Linked DNA regions of Homo sapiens: region 1 is linked to region 2. Evidence: promoter capture Hi-C in 16 types of primary human blood cells and fetal thymus (Javierre and others, 2016). All regions are on one chromosome and are shown on one strand. The core of a region is centred on a gene start or on the middle of the fragment in contact, and the rest is flanking DNA. Distances in the headings are between cores, read along the strand shown. Region 1 has its middle 9.9 kb from the start of MIR6125. Region 2 holds the start of ABCD2 (ATP binding cassette subfamily D member 2).

Evidence for each region. The method cuts DNA at HindIII sites, captures the fragments that hold promoters and counts their contacts. A CHiCAGO score of 5 or more calls a contact.
Region 1: a contact is called between a fragment that was not itself captured here and the fragment with the promoter of ABCD2 in region 2, in 1 of 17 cell types (total CD4 T cells). The highest score is 5.3, in total CD4 T cells.

Annotation. Positions count from the first base shown.
Region 1 is chr12:62,247,719-62,253,175 of GRCh38, forward strand. It overlaps a transcript of TAFA2 not described here. Among named protein-coding and RNA genes, the nearest start is that of MIR6125, 9.9 kb to the right of the region's middle. The HindIII fragment of the contact is 6,671 bases long and covers 1-5,457 here.
Region 2 is chr12:39,616,309-39,621,817 of GRCh38, forward strand. ABCD2 (ATP binding cassette subfamily D member 2) reads right to left here and starts at 3,495. Exons shown (of 10, transcript NM_005164.4): 1 at 2,369-3,495; 2 at 680-860. The coding sequence starts at 3,307. RefSeq lists enhancers at 2,897-2,976, 3,287-3,806, 5,036-5,115. The HindIII fragment of the contact is 3,952 bases long and covers 825-4,776 here.

The DNA.
Region 1 (5,457 bases), core at 885-3,384, about 23 Mb after region 2:
AAAGCTAAAATCTATACCTTGCAGGAATAAAAGTTACCTTGCAGATTCCCAAAGACCTATAATCAGGCAAATGACACATTCAGTTGTAAGTTTTAGTGTTCCCTTTATTTTGAGTGTTTTTATTCAAATAAGTTGCAACTTTATTGTTCAGAGAAATAGTCACTGAATTAAAATCAATGAAAAATTAGAAAGACTGTTTCTTTTTTTGAGTTTTTGAGTTTTTGTTTCTTTTTCTTTTCTTGGCTCTCCTTTTGATGCAGAATTTTTTGCTCTTTAGTTCAGCTAAAATCTTGTTCTTGTGTCACAACCAGGAAAAATTAGGTACATGGACACATTGAAAGGTGAGGAGAGCAGAATTTATTAAAAGAAAGCTCTCAGAAAAAAGGCGGTCCTTTCAACAGGCTTCCACCTCACAGACTGAATACCAGGTCACCACACATGAGCTGAAGAGGCCAGGCTTTGCCCAACTTTATCAGGTGTGGATTCCAGGTGGGTCCACCCCATTGTCCCAGTGCAGGGGTGGGCCCTTAGTTTGAGCCACTCCATATTGATTTATTTCCCTTACTAGGCATGTGTTAAGGGACAGAATGTCTTTGAACATGACACATGAGTTGTAATGCACAGCAAAGTAGGAAAACCCAAGGAGCTCGTCTATACATACAACGCATGTGTTAAGGGACAGAATTTTTCACTGTGGGCACGTTTAGGTAAGCTCCCTGTGCACAATGGCCTGGGCAGCATTTGGCTGTCTCCTTCTCTATCACTTTTATGAGGTGTATAACCTTTTTAAAAATGTGTAAAACTTATTATTTTACTGTATTGTGGCAAGAACACTTAACATGAGATCTCAACACATTTTTAAGTGTACAGTAAATTATTGTTGACTATAGGTACCAAGTCGTCAAGCAGATCTCTAGAGCTTATTCATCTTGCTGGACTTAATGCCTGTTTATTACCAGCTCTCCATATCTCCTTCCACTCCATTTACTTTATTTGTTGAAATTATTTCCCTTCAAATTCTTTTTTATTTTTAATTGCGGCAAAATATATATAATAAAATTTACTAACTTAAACATTTTTAAGTGTGTGATTTAGTAGTTAAGTACATTAACATTGTTGTGCACCCAGTCTCCCAAACTCATCTTGCAAAACTGACACTCTGTACCCATTAAACAACAACTACCCATTGCTCCCTTCCCTCAGCATCTAGCAATCATCATTTGAGAAAATGGCTCAGAGCAGTCTGAAGAATGTGAGAGATGCAAAATTATCAGGCCCAGACAGCAGTGAGCATGATACTTCAGTCGCATCCCCCACACCCATGCCCCAGGGTAATTGTTTAAAAATTTTTTTTTTTCATTCCTTCCCTGTGGTTTCAGACTAGCTGATAAATTACCTAAAATGTTACCACACATTGCACAATGTGACCCTCACCCAGTATCTTCATGTTCCTGGAATTTGTGATAGAAAGAACAATGTACAGCCAATTGATAGACTGTTATTTTTTAAATTCTTGGTAAACAACTTAGGGACTGCTCCCTCCTTTTTTTTCCTAAAAAAAAAAAAAAAAAGGAAAAAGACCACTTGTAACTGCTGTTAATCAGAGCATATATTGAGGGCAACTAGAATCTGATTTCCAGGCTGCAGTCCTCACCTTTGGCTTAAATTAACTCTCTACTTAATCTGTGTCCTTCAAGAATAGCTTGATGCCATCCTTGTGGTAATGAGTAAGTTCTTACTCTATTAGTTCCCATGACAGTTGATTATTAAAAAGAGCCTGGCACCTCTCCCCACGCTCTCCCACTTTTCCTCTCTCACCATGTGATCTTTGCATATGCTAAATGTGCCTCAGTTTCTTCCTCTTTGCCTGAGATTCTTCCCTTAGGTCAAAATTTCTGGTGTAGTCAGCAAGATTCAGAGCAACCTTCCAAATACCCATTGTTCCCTCTCAGACTCAGTGCTCAGTACCAGCAAAAACCCATTGCATTCTTCCAACACCAGATATTTCGCTGGGTGCAAAAGTGTGAGGTCTACATTTTATGTGGGCTTCTTTTTCAAACTCTCTTTTTTCTTTAAGAGCAAGAGTTTCCATCTCCATCTCTAAACAGGAGATTCAGACAAAGAGCCCTGAAGAGAATTTTTGCCCTCTCCACCTGTGCCTCACAGCGGGTTTGGATTACAGTATTGGCAGTCTAGCAAGGGTGGTTTCACTTTTTTGGGGGGCCTAAAATTAAGTAATGTCTTAGTCCATTTAGTGTTACTCTAAAGGAATACCTGAGTCTGGGTAATTTATAATGAAAAAGGGTTTATTTGTCTCAGATTCTGATGTCTGTAAAAGTTCAAGATGGGGCATCTGCATCTGGTGAGAAGCACTCATGGTGGAAGGCAGAAGGACTTCTTTTAGCAAGCATCAATATGTTGTAAATTCAGTCTCTTTAAAAATAACTCTTTATTTCCCTTCGTCTTGAATACTTTAACTGAATACAGAATTTTAAGTTAACAGTAATTTTCCCCTTGGCACTTTGAAGATGATATTCTGGCATATATTTCTGGCATATACTATAACTGATGATAAGTTTTCTATCCAATGCTTCTATCTAAATCGCATTTTTAAAATAAGGAACTATCTTTTCTTTTTATATTTAAGATTTTTCTCTGAGTTCATATTTTTATGTTCATGAGAATGGGTCAAGGTATTTATAGTTATGCATGTATATGTATGACTTGTTTTATTTTTATTGTTCTTCTCAAACTCATTATAATTTCTGTACATATAGATGTGTGTGGGTGTGTATGTGTGTGAGTTTTGTTCTTATTAAATTCATTGTAATTTCTGAATCTAAAAACTAGAGGTTTTTTTCCATTCTGGAAAAAAAATAGGTATTATGTCTTTGAATATTGCCTGTTTATTTTTTATTCTGGAACTCCTATTAAACATGTTGGGTTTTGGCCATTCTCTATGTATCTTAACTGTTCTTCCATATTTTCATGCTTTATCTTTCTGGCAAAGCAGTATATTAGAGAAATTTTCAGCAAATGATTACTCCCTTCCCCTCTCCTACAGAAGGAATGTACTTCCCTGATATTAATTGAGGTCTTGCATAGTTAGGCTTGTCTCTTGATCTCTTTTTGCAACGAGAACATGACTCAGCTAGCCTCTGGTTTAAAGAGGATGAGAGATATGTGGAACAGACCAGGACCTGACCTAATCCTCAGAGAGCAGCTGAGTCTCGCCAAGACCAGCCAATCTCCAGCTAACCCAAAAATGCATGAGTAGGAAATATGCGTATATTGTTGTATGGCACTAGGACTTTGGGTGTTTTGAAAGTCAGAAAAATTGGGCTGATTCAGAATTTGATGTATAAAGTACAGTGCTGCCATAACTAAAACCCAAAATATGTGGCACTGGCTTTGGGAATGGGCAGCAGGTAGTCATGTAATTGTTATAGGAGGCTGGAATAATGACAACAGTATTATGCAGTGGCAAAACATTTGGTAAAATTGTCACCTGCAATACTATGGAATACAGAACATGCAGATCTAGTAAACTTGTGAATTTGGATGAGGTGATTTCAAAGAAGAATATTGAAGAGCAGGCTGCTGCCAGGTGCCTTTGAAAAAGCATAAGAAAGTGGTGAGCTCAAAATGAACTGCCTGGGTTACAAACAGAATTGAGAGGAAATAGAGAGTTTAGAAATACTGAAAGTTGTAGGCTTAAAAATGAAACTGTTTCTCAACATGTCCCCAGCTCAAAGAAAAAGTAAATTTTGGCCACTGCCAGGGTAAAGACCAAAACAAGGGTGTGGTGCAGGCCCAAGTGCCCTGAAAGCAGACTCTGAGATGGAAAATAGCCTGTAAAGAAGTGCTCTCAGGATCAACACTTGTGGAAGAAAGGAAGCAAACAAGATTGAGCAGAGAAAGAAAGTGGGCTGTAATTAATTTATAAAAAGAACTTAACCAACCCACTGAAGCTAGATTGCTCCTCACAGTTGTTTCCAATAGAGGAAATGAAGCCAAGTCTTTAAAACCCTACATCAATTAGTTATTGCACACTGGCTGCCCCCTGAAGAGAGCATGAACTACACAGGGTGCCTCTTTTCTATTGAGAGTGATTCCCAAAGAAGACTGACAGCTGAGATCAGTAGAAATCCCAGCAGCTAGAGGAATAAATTCTTTAGTCATGAAGGATGATGTTAATGGCACAGTAGATTATCCAATTCAATTCACCCCATGCTCCACTCAGACCTTTATTTTTGCAAAAGTTTTTGAAGCAGCTCCAGAACTTGGGAAGAAAGTTAGCGAGATACATAGATTCCATTGCAAAGACCAAAAGTGATACTCAATATATGCTTCCTGATCTACCATTCTAGAGTTTCCTCACCTTGACTAGCTCCTCTGCTGGTCTTGTTGGCTTACCTGGTGGGATGATCCAGTCACTCATCCTTGAGAGTCACCATACCTTTCTCAGGTCATCAATACTTTACTAGTCAATTTACTGTCAAAGTTGTGCAAGGGCATACCAAGAGATGCCAAATACATTCCTTTTTGCCATCACTGTATAAGAGCAGCCTGACCTCCTCCCAGTATTTAGAATGATAAACCTGCCAGGATGGTGACTGCTCTCGTTGCCTGATCCTTTGGCAGTAGAAGGCAGAAATGCCCCAGTGACAGCCATAGTTTAAAGTTCACTGGGCCTCTTGCTGTGTCTCCTGGTGGAAATGCTCACCTTTTGGGAACAATACCTCTAAACCTACAAATCTCAGAGCTATGGAGATGAGTAGCACAAAATCCCCAATTGGGTCACTGACAATGATGGTAAACAGGACCACCTCTACTTCTACATTTGATTCCCATATCCATAAATTCTATTTGCTGGGAACACAGCAACATATGCTGGCCATTGATTCAGAGGGTATACTGCATAGGGTATTATTGTATCTAAGGTGGTGCTTAAGCTGATTCTTCAACAGGCCATTCCGTTGCTCTATCCGGCCGGCAATTGTTTACAGTTCTGGGTGAAGTGTTATGTGAAAGAATCAGTGAATCACATGGTCACGTGCTCACTACCACATCTCTTTTGCAATAAAATGAATCCCTTTGTTTGATGTGATATTGGGAAGATCCTGTGTCATGAGATCAAACACTCCATAAGTATGGTGGAAGCAGCTGAAGCACTATTGGCAGGAAAGGAAAATCCATACCTGAAATATGTGTCAATTCTAATCAAGATGAATCATTCATTGCCCCTTACATAATAGAAGGGATCCATGTAATTAACTTGTCATTTGATTCTCCTCCATGGATGATTCTATATCAAGGGCTCAATATTGGTCTCTGTTCCTGACAGGTTGGACATTTGGCAGCAGCAATAGCCAAATCACTGTTGGTAAGTGAGAGCTCATGCTGTGGGGCCATCCACAGTCATGATGACTACCCTTCTTGTGCCCATTGTTCCAG
Region 2 (5,509 bases), core at 2,245-4,744:
CCCTTATCTTTCTTTGTTATTCCAAAGAATAAAAACTGTTATTAAAAACTGTTGAGACAGTGGTAGGATAGAATTAGCCAGCTGCAGCTTGACAACCACCATTCCTACAAAACCACCAAATCATGCTGCATAAGAGGTTATCTGTATTATTCACAAGCAGAGGAGCCCTTATTCCATGGCACTTAAGCATTCTCTGAAGCAATATTCCTGCTTGCCCATTGTAGTCAATGGACTTTTCAAATCGCAAAGCAGGGCAAATTCAGTTATAGAATATTTATAGACTAAATGTATGGGATGTATAGAACTAATGTTTATAACACATGAGGAATGCTTGTGTTATACTCTTTCTGAGGGTACTAACTTATTCTGAGGTTAAGTGTAAACTAAAGAATCATCCTATATTAGGCAATATAATTAAAATTGCTCAAGGTCAACTCCGAGAAACACTGCATCAGAGATCTCTGAAATAGCTCAGAACTGGGAACGTCTTTGAACCACTGTCTCCTTATTTCATACTGCTGGTCTTATCACTGGACGCTGTAAAGTCTGCCATTGTTTCGGACCATTGTTAACTAGAATATGACCATGTACACAGTTTAGCTCACATAAAACTAGCAATGACAACTTCAAAAGAAATAATGTTAAAAATATATTTGAGATTAAGCATAAATGTCATTACCACCATCTGCAAAGCCAGTTGCAGTGATAATAGGTATAGCCACCATAATTAGTCCACTGCTGCTCCAAACATACTTCATCAGGAACTGTTCTATCATGATGTACCACAAACGTTTGGATAAAATGAGGTTCATCTGATCTGCTAAAGCTTTGTAACTTTTCTGAAGTTGTTTCATTTCTACCTATAGAGAGGAAAAAGAGTTGAGGACTTTTTTTAAAGATATATACATATTATTCTTTTTTTTTTTTAGTATGGCATTATCTATGCATCTTAACCAATAAATGCAGATTAATACCAGTATTAGTTATTATTTAGTTTTGGTCACATGTGTATTATTTTTAAAAGTTTATGCTACTCAGTGGACATAATGTTAGGTATAAAATACATATAAGTAATTTATAGTTATGATATTTAAATTTTATGTATGAGATGTTAAAATTAAATGATATTATATGAGACATGAATAAACAATTATTAGAGCTTTGTCCTTGTTGATTACACCAAAAATATCTGAAAATGGACACATGACATATATATGTATAGACTCCACTTTTGAACTGACTCAATTTGTTGGATTTTGTCTTTTATGCAAGAAGTCTAAGCACACTATAATTTATATCATTGAATTCAATAGTTCAAGAAGAATCACAAATCAATATGATATAATACAATATATGAGGTCAATTTTCAAGTGGGAGTAGGATTCCTAAATTTACTTTAAATATTATTTTTCAGGTTGCTACTGCTATTAAAGACACTGATAATTACAGATGCTTTAAAAATTAAATAATTCTGCTTGGTGATTGACATGCCATCTTCAACAGTAGAATACTTTATTTTATTCACCAAGTCATTTAAATTAAGATTGCATTGCCTTCAAAATTTCTGTCATTTCATATTCTGAAGTTACCTTCATGCACTGTTAGTATGTATAATTGGGCTAATTGTTTTAGGGATCTGCTTAATGTTGAAAATCTTTAATAATTAAAAACATTCTGAAACTCCTTTTGTACTCCTCATTTCTTCTCTAATTTCAGCTTTTTTTTTTTTTCAAAGCTAGACAAAATTTCATTTCACTTCCTCTTTTCATTTTGTCAAAGTACAGTGCTGAACATGAACTAAGAGTAGTAGAAATGCCATTTTGTGAGACACTCTCCTACGCTTCTTGGGAATGGGGATGCTCCATATTGATCAGACATGCAAAATTGTTAAAAATGTCTTCTATAAGAAACCCTGGCTCTTCCCCCCTCTTGGACAACAAAGGAACAACAAAGAATATCATTCTAAATTTTCCATTTCAGTGGAAATATGTTTAGTCTTAGTTTCTAAATATATATTTTCTTCTGGTAGGTGCTTTAGGATGACCTACCAAGTTGGGATTTAAGTTTTAAGAAAATGCGTTAGAAATAATTCTGAGCATATTTGAGTAACTGAGGCTAAGTAGACTTTTTTAGAGTGTTGCAAATTTTATTCTTCTGAAACTTTAGAAAAGTTTGCACCCTATAATCCTTTAACTGGTTACAGTTAAAAGGGGTAATGAAGCATATATTTTAATTCAGGTTTAGATGTCAGAGGAATCTAAGACACTAAAGAAGTGGGTCCATCGACAGGACAACAGATGGTATCTGGCACTGCAGTGGCAACTTGAACAGTTTCACATTTCACCCATCACCTTAATTTCTATCTTACCTTATGTCCTCTGTAAAAGGCAATTTCTTCTACATTGGCTATAATTCTCGAGTGCACATACCGCAAATAGCCTTTTCTATGTGCTTCCTCTGCCACCAGTTTGCCAAATTTGGGAGAACAGGCTTTTAACACTTTAGCAGTGGCATACACCACAAGTCCTGCTAGTAGGGTGGGCCCAATTGGGCTTGCTCCTCTGGATGTAGCAGTTTGAATGAGTGTATAGGAGGTCAGCATTACATCTAAAATAGGTTTGGTCAGATTGGAATACAAGTGAGCCACAGATTGGGAGAACATCATAATATCCTCCGTAAGAGATTGGTCAGGGTTTGCCAGCCTCCCATCCATATTGATCACTTTATAATAAGTCTGATTTGTAAAATAGGTTTCATAGGCGTGGTCTACTAGGCGAGTTCTGAAGGCCAAAGCCAATTTGCATTCCAGGTACCTTATTGCACTGTTGACGAAGGTAGCAGGGATGGCAATCATAAGCCACTTGATTAATTTGATGATGAAAGTCCGAGGCTTCTTTTCCACAATGCTTTTCACGATTTTTCCATCCAGACCAGCCACATAGATAGAAAGAAAGGTTCTTGAGATTAGAGCCACTGAGTGCAGGCAGAGCCACCCTGTTTCAGTGGTCACAAGTTTTGGAAACAAAATTTTCCGAAGTTCTAGTAGCTGTTTGAAGAAATCTGCATTCACTCCAGGCGAAGGTTTTTCACAAATGGTCTCGGTGCAATGCAGTATTTCTGTGTTCTCTGCAGCAGGGTAAGCTGCTGCTTTTTTCTTCCCGTGGCCAGATTGCTTTAAACGCTTGCCAATGATGGGATAGAGGGTTTTCAGAGCATATGCCGCAGCCACCAGGCAGGCAGCCCTCTTAGCAGCACTCGATCTGGTCCATTTCACTCGATCAGCTGCTGCATTTAGCATATGTGTCATTTTCCCAGTTACCCAAACCGGCTTCCAAAAGAATTCGTTTTAAAAGATCATGCTTCACAGAAATCCCCAGCAAATGTTTTAGAAAGTCCTACAGCGTCCCATAGTCTGCAGCGTTTCTCTTCCACTGTTGTGTTTTTAATTTTGTTCTGCTGTGACAGATGCAGCAGAGCTCAGACTCCGCTGCATCTACCGGGAATGATTCTCTCAGAAGCTCAAGCTGCACCAAGCTCCTCCCTCCCAGGCCCCTCATTGGCTGTGAGGGCGGTGGGACCTTGGAATCCTCGCAGCTTCCCTTTGAACCTTGAAAATGAGGAGAGAGCAAAGCGAATTACATCCTTCCTTAAACAGGAGTTCAGAGAGTTAAAATGTCTATTTTTGGAGAGGTCGAATCAGGCCATCTGCTGGCGAACAAAACCGGCTCTAGCTACTGAGCATGCTCAGTGTCACTTAGAAACCCACAGAAGTTTCAGAATATACATCACTTCGGTAAGATTTCAGTAGATACCGCAAACAGAAGAGCAAGCAGAAAGGGAGATTTCCAAGCGAACAAAACCGGCCCTAGCTACTGAGCATGCTCAATGTCACTTAGAAACCCGCAGAAGTTTCAGAATATACATCACTTCGGTAAGATTTCAGCAGCTACCGCAAACAGAAGAGCAAGCAGAAAGGGAGATTTGCAAGAGTTTTAATGAGACGAGGAGGGAGAAGGAACCACGAAAATGAGGGAGGAGGGACAAGAGGATCAACATAAAATGAATATGAAAAGGATATGGAATGAATCTGAAACGGATCAGAAAAGAAAGTGACAAGTGGGAGGGACACCGGAGAATGCCAAATATCAAATACACTTGGATCTGTTTTTCACAGATCCCCCCGGCTTTTTTGGGGGTCTGATTTCACAAAAGGTCTCAGAACCTAATAGACAAGTTGTAATCGAGGGTTTCCCTTGTAAATAAATAGGATAAAAGTCTTCCGTGTTACAGAAAATAATTATTTGCTATGCCTCTAGCCATTCTCCCTTTTTCCTCTGCATCCTACTTGTCCTTATGCTAAAAATCTTCCAGCCCCATAACTGGAGATCTGATGTACTCATATTTATTTACAAGGTGACGACTATTAAATAAATGAGAGCAATGTTTCATGTTTACTACTCCCATGTGTTAGGTAGTTTTTACTTGGAGTGGGGTAGCACTTATAGTGAAAGTTTAACCATTTGGGAATTCAGCTGGTGTTGGATGGTGGAAATAGCTTCTCTAGGACCTTACTTCATTTTTCAAGAATGCTTTGTCTTTTGCAGGTTTCTGCTTTGTTTGTTTTGTTTAGCTGTAGAGATAATCTACTGGCTACTTCCTATTTCCATTTGGTTATTTGATAAAAACTAAGAGTCTTAAAATTCTTCACATCCATAATGGAGGATTTAAATTGTTCAACAGTCAAGGACAATTCTGCATATTTTTGAAAATGTAAAAAGCTTTTTTTTTTTTTTTTTTTTTTTTTTTTATGAGACAGAGTCTCTCTCTGTCACCCAGGCTGGAGTGCAGTGGCACGATCTCAGCTCACTGCAGCCTCCGCCTCCCAGGTTGGTGCCTCAGCAGCCCGAGTAGCTGGGATTACGAGGGTGCGCCTACCATACTTGGCTAATTTCTGTAGTTTTAGTAGAGATGGGTTTTGCCATGTTTGCCAGGCTGGTCTCAACCTCCTGGCCTCAAGTGATCCACCTGCCTTAGCCTCCCAAAGTGCTCGGATTATAGACGTGGGCCACCACGCCCAGCCAAGAGCATTTTTTAAGTCAGGGCTGAGTATATTTTTGGATATGGAAAAACCATTTTTTTTGCTCTTCACTGTCCCCGCCCCCCATCTCATTAAAATTCTCGGAAATCTCCCTTTCTGCTTGCTCTTCTGCTTGTGGTATCTACTGAAATCTTACAAAAGTGATATATATTCTGAAACTTCTGGGGATTTCTAAGTGACACTGAGTATGCTCAGTAGCTACAGCCAGTTTTGTTCACCAGCAGCTGGCCCCCAACATACATACACATTTCCAGTCAATTAAAAGCTTAGGAAAATATGCATCAAGCTAGAACAGAAGTTGGCAAATTACAACTGGTGGGCCAAATCTAGCCTGCCACTTAATTTTATATGACCCTTAAGCTAGGAATGATTTTTACATTTTTAAAGTGGTTGAAAATACTTCAAAACAAG